Regions from separate parts of the Homo sapiens genome. Here region 1 is linked to region 2. The links are contacts of gene promoters, found by promoter capture Hi-C in blood cells and fetal thymus (Javierre and others, 2016). All regions are on one chromosome and are shown on one strand. The core of a region is centred on a gene start or on the middle of the fragment in contact, and the rest is flanking DNA. Distances in the headings are between cores, read along the strand shown. Region 1 overlaps MAST2 (microtubule associated serine/threonine kinase 2). Region 2 holds the start of CCDC17 (coiled-coil domain containing 17).

The links. Contacts are between HindIII fragments. The CHiCAGO score rates a contact against its expected background, and 5 or more counts as called.
Region 1: a fragment that was not itself captured here is called in contact with the fragment with the promoter of CCDC17 in region 2 in 5 of 17 cell types (megakaryocytes, M0 macrophages, erythroblasts and 2 more); the score reaches 6.8 in megakaryocytes.

Annotation. Positions count from the first base shown.
Region 1 is chr1:45,835,670-45,842,164 of GRCh38, reverse strand. All of the region lies in intron 3 of MAST2 (microtubule associated serine/threonine kinase 2), which reads right to left. Among named protein-coding and RNA genes, the nearest start is that of MAST2, 35 kb to the right of the region's middle. RefSeq lists an enhancer at 2,837-3,338. The HindIII fragment of the contact is 2,091 bases long and covers 2,086-4,176 here.
Region 2 is chr1:45,622,185-45,629,076 of GRCh38, reverse strand. CCDC17 (coiled-coil domain containing 17) reads left to right here and starts at 5,023. Exons shown (of 13, transcript NM_001114938.3): 1 at 5,023-5,341; 2 at 5,425-5,520; 3 at 5,638-5,860; 4 at 5,960-6,122; 5 at 6,243-6,326; 6 at 6,410-6,528; 7 at 6,729-6,836. The coding sequence starts at 5,168. GPBP1L1 (GC-rich promoter binding protein 1 like 1) reads left to right here. Exons shown (of 13, transcript NM_021639.5): 13 at 669-1,773. The coding sequence ends at 821. The HindIII fragment of the contact is 6,664 bases long and covers 1-5,921 here.

The sequences.
Region 1 (6,495 bases), core at 1,882-4,381, 210 kb before region 2:
TAATCCCAGTACTTAGGGAGGCCAAAGCGGGTGGATCACTTGAGCCTGGGAGTTCGACACAGAAGAATACAACGATCACCTAGTGGCAATCAAGCAGACCATCCGAAGACAAAACTCCTTATCTGAAAAATTGAAAAGTAATTAGACTTCTCTATTATCTAAAGCCAGCATCTGGTACCAGGCTTCTTTCCCAAAAATTTATAAGTAACTAGAATTTCTATACATCTCCAGAATGCATGAATGTCAAAACTTATTTTGCAACCCTTGCTAACATCAAGGCACCCAAAGTCTACAAATGTAATAATTTACCATGACCTACATAACTAATATGGTCCAAATTACCCTAAGGTCCTGCTTTAAAGTCCATAAATACCCCTAAGGAAAATCCACCGCAACACACTCAGTCCTTTTTGCTGAATGAAGCACTGTACTGCACTCTGCTGCAGCATTCTATCTAATAAAACTTTCCTTTCTAAACCTATACTGCTGTCAGTAAATTCTTTTACCACCAGTGAGCCAACCACTCTCCACTGCCGGGTTCTGACACCTTGCCCAGCAGAGACTAGCCCGCACAACATGGCGAAATCCTGTCTCTACAAAAAAGTCAAAAAATTAGCCAGGCATGGTGGCATCCACCTGTGGTCCCAGCTACATATATAAGGAATACATGTATTTCTTACTGTATCACAGTAATTATATATATATACAGAAGAAATATATATATGTATATATTTCTTTATACGGTAAGAAATATACACAATATTTCTTACTGTATCACAGCTACTAATAACTATTTGAAGTACCGAGGCATAAAAAGAAAAAAATATATACATTTTGTTCATATTGTTAAATGACAAACCTGAGACAAGTTAAATTTAATGACTTAATTGAACAAAAAACAGATTTGCCAGGTGCGGTGGCTCACCCCTGTAATTCCAGCACTCTGGGAGGCAGAGGTGGAGACTGGAGGATTGGTTGAGCCCAGAAGTTTGAGACCAGCCTGGGCAGCACAGGGAGCCCCCACCCCCAACCCCCATTACAAATAATAAGGAAATGAAAACTGTGGTCCCAGCTTCCGGGAAAGGTGGGGAAGGGAGCAGCCTGAGGCAGAAGCATCACTCAAGCCCAAGAGGTCCAGACTGCAGTGAGCCATGTCACTGCACTCCACCCTGGGTGACTAAGCAAGTCCCTGTCTCAAAAAAATAGAGATTAATGAACCAGTTAGCATCCAGTACCAAATGCAGTTCAGAATGTTCCATCCCCCAATGCATGTAGGCTATATTTATAGCCAGAGAAACAGAAATGACATACAGAAGTAGCCTGATGGGCTGCAGTTCAGGTGTTTGCCTTATTTGAACATGCTTTGGCAATATTCAGCCTATATGACTGGCTGAAAACTTGGCTGCTATGCTTGACTGAGGCTCAGCTACTTGTTACAAGAGTATACTCTTAGGTTAGGTTGCAGGTAGTTTATATATTAAATTAGGTTATAGTTCACTATGTAGGGAGGTAGCTTTTGGCTGCCTCTAAATTTAACTATAAATCTGGCACTATGCTATTTTAAATGGATTGTCTCATTTCATCCTAAAAACTGCATGAGCGAAGTCTTAATATTATTTTGATTTTAAAGATGAGAAAACAGAGGCTTAAAGAGGTTCAGTGACTTGTAGAGGGTCATATGATTACTAAGTGGCAGGAGTAGGATGTGGAACACAGGTGTACAGCCTGAGTTTGTATTTACTTTTGTAAAGTAGAAGGCATTCACAATGATTTCATTCAAATATATTTTCTTGAGTAGAAATGAAAAAAGTATAAATTAACGGGTAAACCCACAGGAGTTGCATGCAAAGAACATTCATTATGACTTCTAGATTTCTACCTCCAAAGGTAGAAGGTAGTGATATGTATTAAAATCCAAACAGACAACAAAATCTGTTAATAACTCTTTAACACAAGTTTTACTCATCATTCCACCCCCTTGTAGATACACTTCAATTTGTCTTCATTCCATTAAAAATAAATACTGAAGAGCAAAAATTTTTCTTTCTGATAAAAGCCAATTTTTTTCCTTTTATAGGTTAAGCTTTTTTTACTCCAAGAAACCTTTGCCCCACCTAAAATCACAAAAATTTTCTCGTTTTCCTCTACACATTTTATGATTTAAGCTCTTACATTTGTTCAATTACCCACTTCAAGTTAATTTTTGTACAGCATGAGGTAAGTATAGAGGTTGATATTTTTGTGTGAATTGTTTCAACACCATTTGTTATGAAGACTACCTTTTCCCCCATTAAATTGCCTTGGCAAATTTGTCTATTTGGTTCCAGTGATCTATATATCTATCCTTATACCAATAATCACACTGACCCGATTACTGTTCCTTTATACAAAGTCATAAAATAAGTTTGATTCCTCTAACTTTGGTCTTCTTTTTAATATTGTTTTGGTTATTCTAGGTCCTTTACATTTCAATACACATTTGAAATCAGCTTGATATTTTCTGAAAAATACTACCTGGGTTTTGATCGGGACTGCATTAAATCTATAGCTTAATGGAGAAAATTTACATCTTCATGATATGAGTCTTCCTAGACTGGGCACCAGGTGGTTCATGCCTGTAAGCCAGCATTTCGGGAGGCCAGGGCAGGAGGATTGCTTGAGTACAGGAGTCCAAGACCAGCCTGGGCAACATGGCGAAACCCCATCTCTACAAAAAATACAAAAATCAGCCAGATGTTGCTGGGCGTGGTGGCTCACGCCTGTGATCTCAGCACTTTGGGAGGCTGAGGCGGGCAGATCACGAGGTCAGGAGTTTGAGACCAGCCTGGCCAACATGGTGAAACCCCATCCCTACTAAAAATACCAAAAACTAGCCAGGCATGGTGGCAGGCACCTGTAATCCCAGCTACTGGGGAGGCTGAGGCAGCAGAATCACTTGAACCCGGGAGGCGGAGGTCGCAGTGAGCTGAGACCATGCCATTGCACTCTAGCCTGGCAAACAGAGCGAGACTCCGTCTCAAAAAAAAAAAAAAAAATTTGTGATGGTGCCTGTAGTCCCAGCCACTTGGGAGGCTGACATGGGAGGATCACTGGAGCCCAGGAGGCGGAGGTCGCAGTGAGCCAAGATCACACCCCTATACTCCAGCCTGGATGACAGAGTGAGACCCTGTCTCAAAGGAAAAAAAAAAGAAAAGATATGAGTCTTCCAATACACAAAAATGTTGTATCTCTCCATTCATTTAGGTCTTCTTTAATTTGTCTCAGTAATGTTTTGTAGTTTTCAATGTACTGGTCTTCCAAAATGGTTTCTGGAATTTATCTTCAAGTAGTTCATATTTTAAACTATTGCAAACAGTCCTGATTTTTAAGTTTTGATTTCTAATTACTCATTGTTAGTATAGAGGGATACAACTGATTTCCACATTTTTCGTATATAAATATTTGTGTAAAACTGATAAGAAAATGAAAATGTAAGTCACAGACAGGGAGAATATGTTTAGAAGGCATATATTTGATATATAACTTGTATTCAGAATATACGAAGATTCCTGAAACTCAATAAGACAAAAAAAATTTTTTTTTAAATAGACAAAAGTTTTGAACAGACATTTGATCATAGAATGTATATATATAAAAATAGCTGACTGGGCGCATTGGCTGACACCTGTAATCCCAGCACTTTGGAAAGCCTAGGCGGGTGGATCACCTGAGGTCAGGAGTTCAAGAAGAGCCTGGCCAACATGGCAAAACCCCGTCTCTATTAAAAATACAGAGAAAATTAGCCAGGCATGGTGGTGCATGCCTGTAATCCCAGCTACTCAGGAGGGTAAGGCAAAAGAAGTGCTTGAACCCAGGAGGCGGAGGTTGCAGTGAGCCAAGATCATGCCACTGCGCTCCAGCGTGGGCAACAGACCGAGACTCCATCTCAAAAAAAAAAAAAAAAAAAAAAGAATATATATAATTGGCAAATAAGCACATAAAAATATGTTCAATCTCATTAGTCATTAGAGAAATGCAAATTAAAATTAAAACCACAATGAGAAACTCCCACACATCCACTAGTATGGCTAAAATTTAAAAAATGATAGCCGGGTGCGGTGGCTCACACCTGTAATCCCAGCACTTTGGGAGGCTGAGGCGGGTGGATCCCCTGAGGTCAGGAGTTCGAGACAAGCTTGACCAACACGGCGAAACCCCACCTCTACTAAAAATACGAAAATCAGCTGGGCGTGGTGGCGTGCGCCTGTAATTTCAGCTACTTGAGAGGCTGAGGGAGGAGAATGGCTTGAACCCGGGAGGTGGAAGTTGCAATGAGCCGAGATTGTGCCACGGCACTTTAGCCTGGGCAACAAGAGTGAAACTCCATCTCAAAAAAAAATATATGATAATACCTAGTACTGATAAGATGTGGAGCAACTGCTGGTGGAAATGCAAAAATGGTATAGCCACTTTAGAAAACAGGTTGGCAGTTTCTTATAAAGATAAATTTACACTGGTAAATATACATTCCACCAGTTTCATTCCTAGGTATTTACCCGAGAGAAATAAAGCATATTCCACACCAAAACAAAAACAAAAAAACTTATATGAACTTTCACAGCAGCTCTCTCTCTAACAGGCAAAAACTGGAAACAACCCATATGGTCATTAACTAGGGAATGGAAAAGTCTATATACCCATGCCAATGGAACACTTTTCAGCAATAAAGAGGAACAAACTATTGATACTCAAAACAACATGGATGAATCTCAGGAGGATTATGCTAAGTGAAAAAAGACACAAAAGACTATATACTGTATGATTCCATTCCTATGAAATTCTGGAAAAGGCAAAACCACAGTGACAAAAAGCACATCAGTAGTTGCCAAAGGCTGGGCCTGGGGAGAGAGAACAGACAGCAAAGGGACACAAGCGAACTTGGGGTGGCAGATATATTCTATACCAGGTCCATGGCCTGTTAGGGACCAGGCCACATGGCAGGAGATGAGCTGTATGAGGGTGAGCATTATATATTCTATACCAGGTCCATGGCCTGTTAGGGACCAGGCCACATGGCAGGAGATGAGCTGTATGAGGGTGAGCATTACCGCCTGAACTCCGTCTCCTGTCAGATCAGCAGCACAGCATTAGATTCTCGTAGGGGCATGAACCCTATTGTGAACTGCGCATACGAGGGATCTAGGTTGCACGCTCCTCATGAGAATCTAGCTAATGCCTGATGATCTGAGGTGGAACAGTTTCATCCTGAAACCACCTCCCATCCCCCCTCCACCCATCTGTGGAAAAACTGTCTTCCATGAAACCCGTCCCTGGTGCCAAAAAGGTTGGGGAATGCTGTTCTGTTCTATACCATAATTCTTATATAACTATATCATAATTGTGGTGGTGGTGACACAACTGTATACATCTGCCAAAAGTCATCAAACTGAACACTTAAAACGGGTGAATTTTATTCTATGTAAATTATACCTCAATAAAGCCAACTGACATATAGATATAGATATCTCCACCTTTCACAGTAGAAAATGCAAAACTACAGCAGCAGAAAGGTAATACTGAAAGGGGAAGTGCTGAATTTGGAATCTCTTTATAATACTGAAGTAGGTAAAACAAACGTCTATGGGTTTTTCCTCTTTGAACTCGTGAAAATTAAGGAAAAATAAATTAAGAATGATGGGATTACTTTTCAACTAAAATAATATAAATTAAAATAAGAATCTTTTTAATGATGAGAAAAGGTTCTAGGTTCTAAGAAAAGTCTTGGAGTTTTGTTATTTCCTTTAACAGCATACTCCATGTGACCTCAACAGACAGTTCTAAAATATTATTAAAATATAATACTAATCAAAGCCACAATAAGACACCACTTGACACCCACTATGATGGCTATAATCAAAAACACAGAAAAGTACTGGCAAGGATGCAGTGAAACTGGAACCCTCATATATTTCTGGGAAGAATATAAAATGGTGTAGCAAACCAAAAGTGTGGTAGTTCTTCAAAAAGTTAAACAAAGAATTACTGTATCATCCAACAAATCTACTCTTAGGTACATACCCAAAATACAGAAAACAAGTATTCAAAACAAATTCATGTACACAAATACAGCAGTACTATTCACAATGGCTAAAAGGTGGAAACAACTCAAATGTCTATCAGCAGACAAACGGATAAAAGTGTGGTTTACCCATACAACAGAATCTTATTCAGCCATAAAAAAGGAATAAAGTATTGATACATGCTATAATGCAGAAAAATCTTGAAAGCATTGGGCTAAGTGAAAAAAGCCAGGCACAAAAGGGCACATATTTTATGATTCCATTTATATGAAATATTAGAATAGGTAAATCCACAGAGACAAAAAGCAGATTAGTGGTTGCCCTAGCTAGAATGAGGGTGGAATGAATAATGACTGTTTAATGGGTAGAGGATTTTTTTTGCAGGGGATGGTGGTGAACATGTCTTAAAACTTGATAAAGGTGATGGCTGCACACA
Region 2 (6,892 bases), core at 3,774-6,273:
TTGAACTTCTGGTGGCCTGTATTTACAGCACAATTGGCCAAGTCCTTAAAAGGGGCATGGCACAAGCTGATGTGAGACCTTGCCACTTAGAACTCTGTTAGAAATAAGGACTTATGGCTGGGCACAGTGGCTCACGCCTGTAATCCCAACACTTTGGGAGGCCGAGGCAGGCAGATGACGAGGTCAGGAGCTCAAGAGCATACTGGCCAATATGGTGAAGCCCCATCTCTACTAAAAATACAAAAATTAACTAGGCGTGGTGGTGTGCGCCTGTAATCCAAGCTACTTGGGAGGCTGAGGCAGGAGAATCGCTTGAACCCAGGAGGCGGAGGATGCAGTGAGCCAAGATTGTGCCATTGCACTCTAGCCTGGGTGACAGAGCGAGATTCCGTCTCAAAAAAATAAATAAATAAAAAGAAATAAGGACTTTCAAGCCCCATCCCAGACATTCTGAATCTGAATCTGCATTTTTGAAAGATGCGTAGATGACTCGTAAATTAAAATTTGAAAAGTACTGGTATAAGAGATCTCAGAGGGTCTCTTAGAAGCACCCCCCGCCCCACATTCTACCTAGAATTGAATTGAGGCCTGGCCTTTCCCAGGGCTTATGGGTCAGTACAGTCATTGATATTTTTTTCTTTTTTCTTTCTCTCCCATGCTAACCATAGCTGAGAAGAAATGGCTTTGGAAAGAATGGCTTCTTGCAGAGCCGCAGTTCCAGTCTGTTCTCCCCTTGGAGAAGCACTTGCAAAGCAGAGTTTGAGGACTCAGACACCGAAACCAGTAGCAGTGAAACATCAGATGACGATGCCTGGAAGTAGGCATATAAATGCTCACAGTTAAATCTGACCCAGTAAACTCTGTGTGTTTAGGGAGTATACAAAAGAAATCGTTCTTTTCCTTTTCTTATGTTGTTGAATACTTCATTCACAAGGGAAATAATCATATCCCAAAGAGAGAGCAATTGGCTTGTTTTGCTTTTGTTATTGTTCTTCCCTGTTATCTGCTTTATAGAGAGAAGTTTGTGTGGTGGGACAGATTTTTTAAACACACTCACACACACACACACATACACACCCAGTATATATGGGGCGATGCACAGGTAGGAGCTGGCAGTGCAGGGAAGAGGAGACACTGGTCTGCAGCAACAGCTTCTACTACCAGCCCTTGGGGCACTCACCCCTGTGATCAAGCAATCATTGTCAATGACAAAGTGACTATTGAAGTTATAATTGTATTAAATTAATGCTAATAATTTGGATATTTTATTTTATTTTTGGCTGCTCGGGTAACTTTAGCCCTTAACCAAGCATATGTGGGTTTTTTTGGTTGTTTTTTTTTGTTTTTTTTTTCTTTTTCCTTTTTGGGTACAGCTGTAAAATATTTGGATATAGGAAATGTTGTGTTATTCTTGCAGCCTTGATATTCAGGGTGGATTGTAAAATATAAATTTTTGTGAGATTTCAAAGATTAAGATTATTTTGATAACATTATTTACAGATTTAAAAGATGTGGTTATCACAAGTCTCGAGGGGGAAACTACTGCATAAAATAACTAACTTGGAATAAATATTTTGCATCAGTTTGGATTGTCTTGTGTAAGAAGTATATTTTCTTTAAAATTAGATGAGTGGATTCTTTTTTAGGGGAAATATTTTTAGAAGTTGGGGGGAAATGTGAATTCAGACACAACTGTTTCTCTATTTTAGCAGATACTTTTTTGATGCAGAAAAACCTGTGCAATAAATTACCAGTAATAAAGTCAGAAACCAAGTTTTTTTTTTTTCCTGAAACTGTTTTTTAGTGCCCATGTATTTACCAGTGTACGTATTTTAAGGGAAGTCTGTTCTGTTTTCCTACTAAATAAGAACTTGGAGTGGGGGTTGGGGGAGAGTTGGACGATGGTAGCTGAATGGCTAGTGAAGGAAGCAGGTTTTTTCATTCAACAAATACTTTTTTTTTTTTTTTGAGACGGAGTCTCACTGTGTCACCCAGGCTGGAGTGCAGTAGCGATCTCAGCTCACTGTAAGCTCCGCCTCCCGGGTTCCCACCATTCTCCTGCCTCAGCCTCCTGAGTAGCTGGGACTACAGGCGCCTGCCACCACGCCTGGCTCATTTTTTGTATTTTTAGTAGAGATGGGGTTTCACCGTGTTTGCCAGGATGGTCTCGATCTCCTGATCTTGTGATCCACCCACCTCGGCCTCCCAAAGTTCTGGGATTACAGGCGTGAGCCACCGCACCCGGCCCATTCAACAAATACTTTCTAAGCCCGTGTTGTATGTCCCAGGCATTATGCAAGGCTCTGAGGATGCAAGGAGTGCCCAGCCCAGTAGGGGAGAGAATAGACAGTGATGTAAGAAAAGGACAGGGGTTCAAGACCAGCCTGGGCAACACAGTGACCTGTCTCTATAAAAAACAAAAACATTAAAATGGTCAGGTCCAGCCAGGCGTGGCTCACGCCTGTAATCCCAGCACTTTGGGAGGCTGAAGCGGGTGAATCACCTGAGGTCAGGAGTTCGAGACCAGCCTGGCTAACATGGTGAAACCCCATCTCCACTGAAAATACAAAAAATTAGCCAGGCATGGTGGCGGGCGCCTGTAGTCCCAGCTACTCGGGAGGCTGAGGCAGGAGATTGGCGTGAACCCAGGAGGCAGAGCTTGCAGTGAGCTGAGATAGCGCCACTGCACTCCAGCCTGGGAGAAAGAGTGAGACTCTGTCTCAAAAAAAAAAAAAAAAAAAAACAACCAGGCATGGCAGCAAGCACCTGTAATCCTAACTATTTAGGAGGCTGAGGCAGGAGAATTGCTTGAGCCCAGGAGGCAGAGGTTGCAGTGAGCCCATACTGCACCATTGCACTCCAGCCTGGGCAACAGAGCAAGACTCTGTCTCAAAAACAGAAACAAAATAGACAGGTCCACGTGGTAGCACACACTTGTAGTCCCAGCTTCTTGGGAGGCTAAGGCAGGAGGATTGCTTGATTCCAAGGCAGTTCAGGGCTACAGTGAGCCATGATGGCACCACTACAATCCAGCCTGGATGACAGTCCTGCTCCCGCCTCTTCGGCCTAGAGCAGGAGATTAGAGAACTACAAGCTGTCTCTTGAGGGAAAAAAAAAAAAAATGGTAGTAGTATTTCTACTGAATGCCTATCACTGTTGCACCATTGTAAAGTCAACCAGTCAAAAGTCTTAACCATTGAAAATTGGGACAAACTTAGTTGTTGAAAAGGAGGTTTTGATTTGGGCTTTGCCATTTACTTGTTTTCTGAGAACATATTTCTAAAAATGTACTCTTTATGTCAGTTGGAATTAAGCTGAACTGAGATGACATACTTTGAACACTTTGTAACTTGCTGCTGGTGGGTCATACCTTGGCTTTAGGTACTGAGTAGGGAAATGTCTTAAGTCCCTGTCTTGTTTAGAAAAGGGAGTTTCGGCCAGGCATGGTGGCTCACACCTGTAATCCCAGCACTTTGGGAGGCCGAGGCGGGGGAATCACGAGGTCAGGAGATCGAGACCATCCTGGCTAACACTGTGAAACCCCGTCTCTACTAAAAATACAAAAAATTAGCCAGGCATAAGGCTGGGCGCAGTGGCTCACGCCTGTAATCTCAGCACTTTGGCACGCCGAGGCGGGCGGATCACAAGGTCAGGAGATCAAGACCATCCTGGCTGACACGGTGAAACCCCATCTCTACTAAAAATACAAAAAAAATTAGCCGGGCACAGTGGTGGGCACCTGTAGTCTCAGCTACTCGGGAGGCTGAGGCAGGAGAATGGCTTGAACCCGGAAGGCGGAGCTTGCAGTGAGCCCAGATAGTGCCACTGCACTTCGGCCTGGGCGAAAGAGCGAGACTCCGTCTAAAAAAAAAAAAAAAAAAAAGCCGGGTGTGGTGGCAGGTGCCTGTAGTCCCAGCTACTGGGGAGGCTGAGGCAGGAGAATGGTGTCAACCTGGGAGGCAGAGCTTGCAGTGAGCCGAGATCGTGCCATTGCACTGTAGCCTGGGCAACAGAGCGAGACTGTCTCAAAAAAAGAAGAGAAAAGGGTGTTTCTTGGCCGGGCGCAGTGCCTTACGCCTGTAATCCCAGCACTTTGGGAGGCCAAGGCGGGCAGATCACGAGGTCAGGAGATCAAGACCATCCTGGCTAACATGGTGAAACCCCGTCTCTACTAAAAAATACAAAAAATGAGCCAAGCGTGGTGGTGGGCACCTGTAGTCTCAGCTACTTGGGAGGCTGAGGCAGGAGAATGGCGTGAACCCAGGAGGCAGAGCTCATTGCAGTGAGCTGAGATCGCGCCACTGCACTTCGGCCTGGGCGACAGCGAGACTCCATCTCAAAAAGAAAAAAAAAAAAGTAAAGAGGGTTTCTTAAGAAATATGCGGTCACCTCAGAGCTCCTCCATATATTTTGGGAGTGGGAGTGGAGTGAAGAATTTCACCAACAGTTCAGGGTCTTTCTGGCTTCTGGCCAATCTTGGGAGAGAGAAGGGGTTTTTTTCTGGACTTGATTCCCTCATCTGATAGATTCATTCTGTTCGCCCACAGCTTTCATTTCTTGGGCTGTGCTGATTATCTTCGTCTACAGCTGAAAAATGAGGAATCAGGGAATGGGAGTTAGGGAGACTGCTATCCCTGGTGCGACATGGTTTCCAGGCAGAATGCTGGAAAGGTCAGAGTGCCTCCTTTGCCAGGTAGTTCTCTGGATTGGAGAATGGTACAAACTGTTACATCCACTTGGGAGTACAGCAATGAAAAAGATGACACTTGCCTTTTAGAGGCTATTAAATGACCAATGATGTAGTAAGTGATAAGGGCCCAGCCTAGTCTAGGAGGCAGCTGCTTTTTCCTCTTTATTAATAGTCAGGGAAACCAAGCTACAATTAGAGACTTGCCCACGTTCAGACTTTGTAACACTTTTTCAAGCCAGTGGCTCCTCCCAAACGGCCGAGGTTTCCCCACCCATTCTCCTGACCTGCCCAGCCCTGTGGTTGCTGTCCAGGGAGCTAAGGCTCTCCCCAAACAAACTTGAAGATCTCACAGACCTAATAGACACGGCCTTTCCTCTCTGCCTCTGGCTTTATGTCTCTTTCATCCTCCTCTGCCTTTCCCCTGCCCTTGATCCCTTCTGCAGGTCTTGGCTGGTTTCAGGAAACGGGTCCCATCCCATGGACTCCCACTCTGGGGAGCCTGCGCTCCTGCCCTGTGGGACCTGTGACATGGTTTTCCGCTCCTCAGCTCTGTTAGCCACCCATACTCAGCGCTTCTGCATTGGCCACCCGACCCAAGAGATGACATTTGGAGCACAGGCATCAGTTGCCACTGAACCCCAGCGGGCCGCGGTAAGGGCCTCCATGGCCATGGGTGGGGATTCAAAGGAGCCAGGACCTTTATGATTCCTCATCCTACTACACCCTATCCCCAGGTTGTGCCACAAGAACACCAGGGCGTGCCACAAGAACCCCAGGGCCTCCCAGACCAGCAGGCCAGTAGATCTGCTCTAAAGAGGTTAACAGAGGAGGTAGAGCTACCTACCTTCCCCCAGGGCTCAAAACGTTGAGCGTCTTCCCCAAACCTGTAGATCATACTTGGGACAGATTCTGCCCACGCAGAGATCGCGGATCGCTGTTACCTCCAGGTGCAGTGGCTGCGGCTATCCCTACAGGAAATGCGGCCCTGGATAACAGAGGTCCCCAGGGTGTTCGCGGGGCCCTGGACACGTTCCGAGGCGCGGCCTCAGAGTCCCATGTCCGAGGCGGTGGGAAGCCCCAGCGAGCGGCTGCGGGCGCTGTTCAGGACTCGCGCGAGGCGCGTGGCGGAGATGGAAGCGCAGAGCCGGGCCCTGCAGCTACGCGGCGAGGGTGAAGGAGATGGGGGACGGGGACCAAGGACCTCCTCTGCCCTCGCCGTTTGGCTTAAGCTTGCTCGGGCCGGTTCTGACTCGGCCCGCATTCCCTCAGAACTGAGCCGACGCCTCCAAGTTGTGGCCTGTACGCGGGGCGGGATGTCCCGCCTCTTCGGCCTGGAGCAGGAGATTCGAGAACTACAAGCTGAGGCCGGGAGGACGCGGGGAGCTCTAGAGGTGTTGGGGGCCCGCATTCAGGAGCTGCAGGCGGAGCCAGGGTGAGACCCGACTAAGCGGATCCCCGGAACATGCGGCTCCGGGGTGGGAGGGGCGGGCTGGCTGCAGCCCCGGGGCCTCTGATGCGTTACCGTCTCCCTGCGCGTCGCCTGCCACCCCAGGAACCCGCTGAGCTCCCGGCGAGAGGCAGAACTTTATTCTCCAGTGCAAAAGGCCAACCCGGGAACTCTGGCTGCCGAAATCCGGTGAGAGCCGGGGCCGGAGATGGGCATAGGGCGAAGCGCTGAGCAGTTCTGGAAAGACGGCCTTCCTGTTCCCCACTCCCTAGGGCGCTGCGGGAGGCCTACATTCGAGACGGGGGCCGGGACCCCGGCGTGCTGGGCCAGATATGGCAGTTGCAGGTGGAGGCGTCTGCACTGGAGCTGCAGCGGTCGCAGACCCGCAGAGGTGAACAGGAGGGCCTCTCGCCAGCGGTGGTCAGTCCTGGGAGGAGAAAAGAACTCGAGGGAGGGCCTGTGGCTGTGGATGGCATGTGAGCTGACAAGTCCAGCCTTATCCGAAGAGCCTTAGCGCTGGAGAGCTGCTCACAGCCGGACGCGGCCAGTCACCAGAGGTCAAAGGTGACAGGTCACACTTGTTCATCGCAGGAAGGGCAGGTGCCACCTCAGGGGAGCTTCCAGTAGTGGAGGCTGAAAACCGGCGCTTGGAGGCAGAAATCTTGGCCTTGCAAATGCAGAGGGGTCGGGCACCCTTGGGTCAGTGAGCACCCCAACCCTATCCCATCCCACTTATCTCTCCCCAGCAGGCCTGG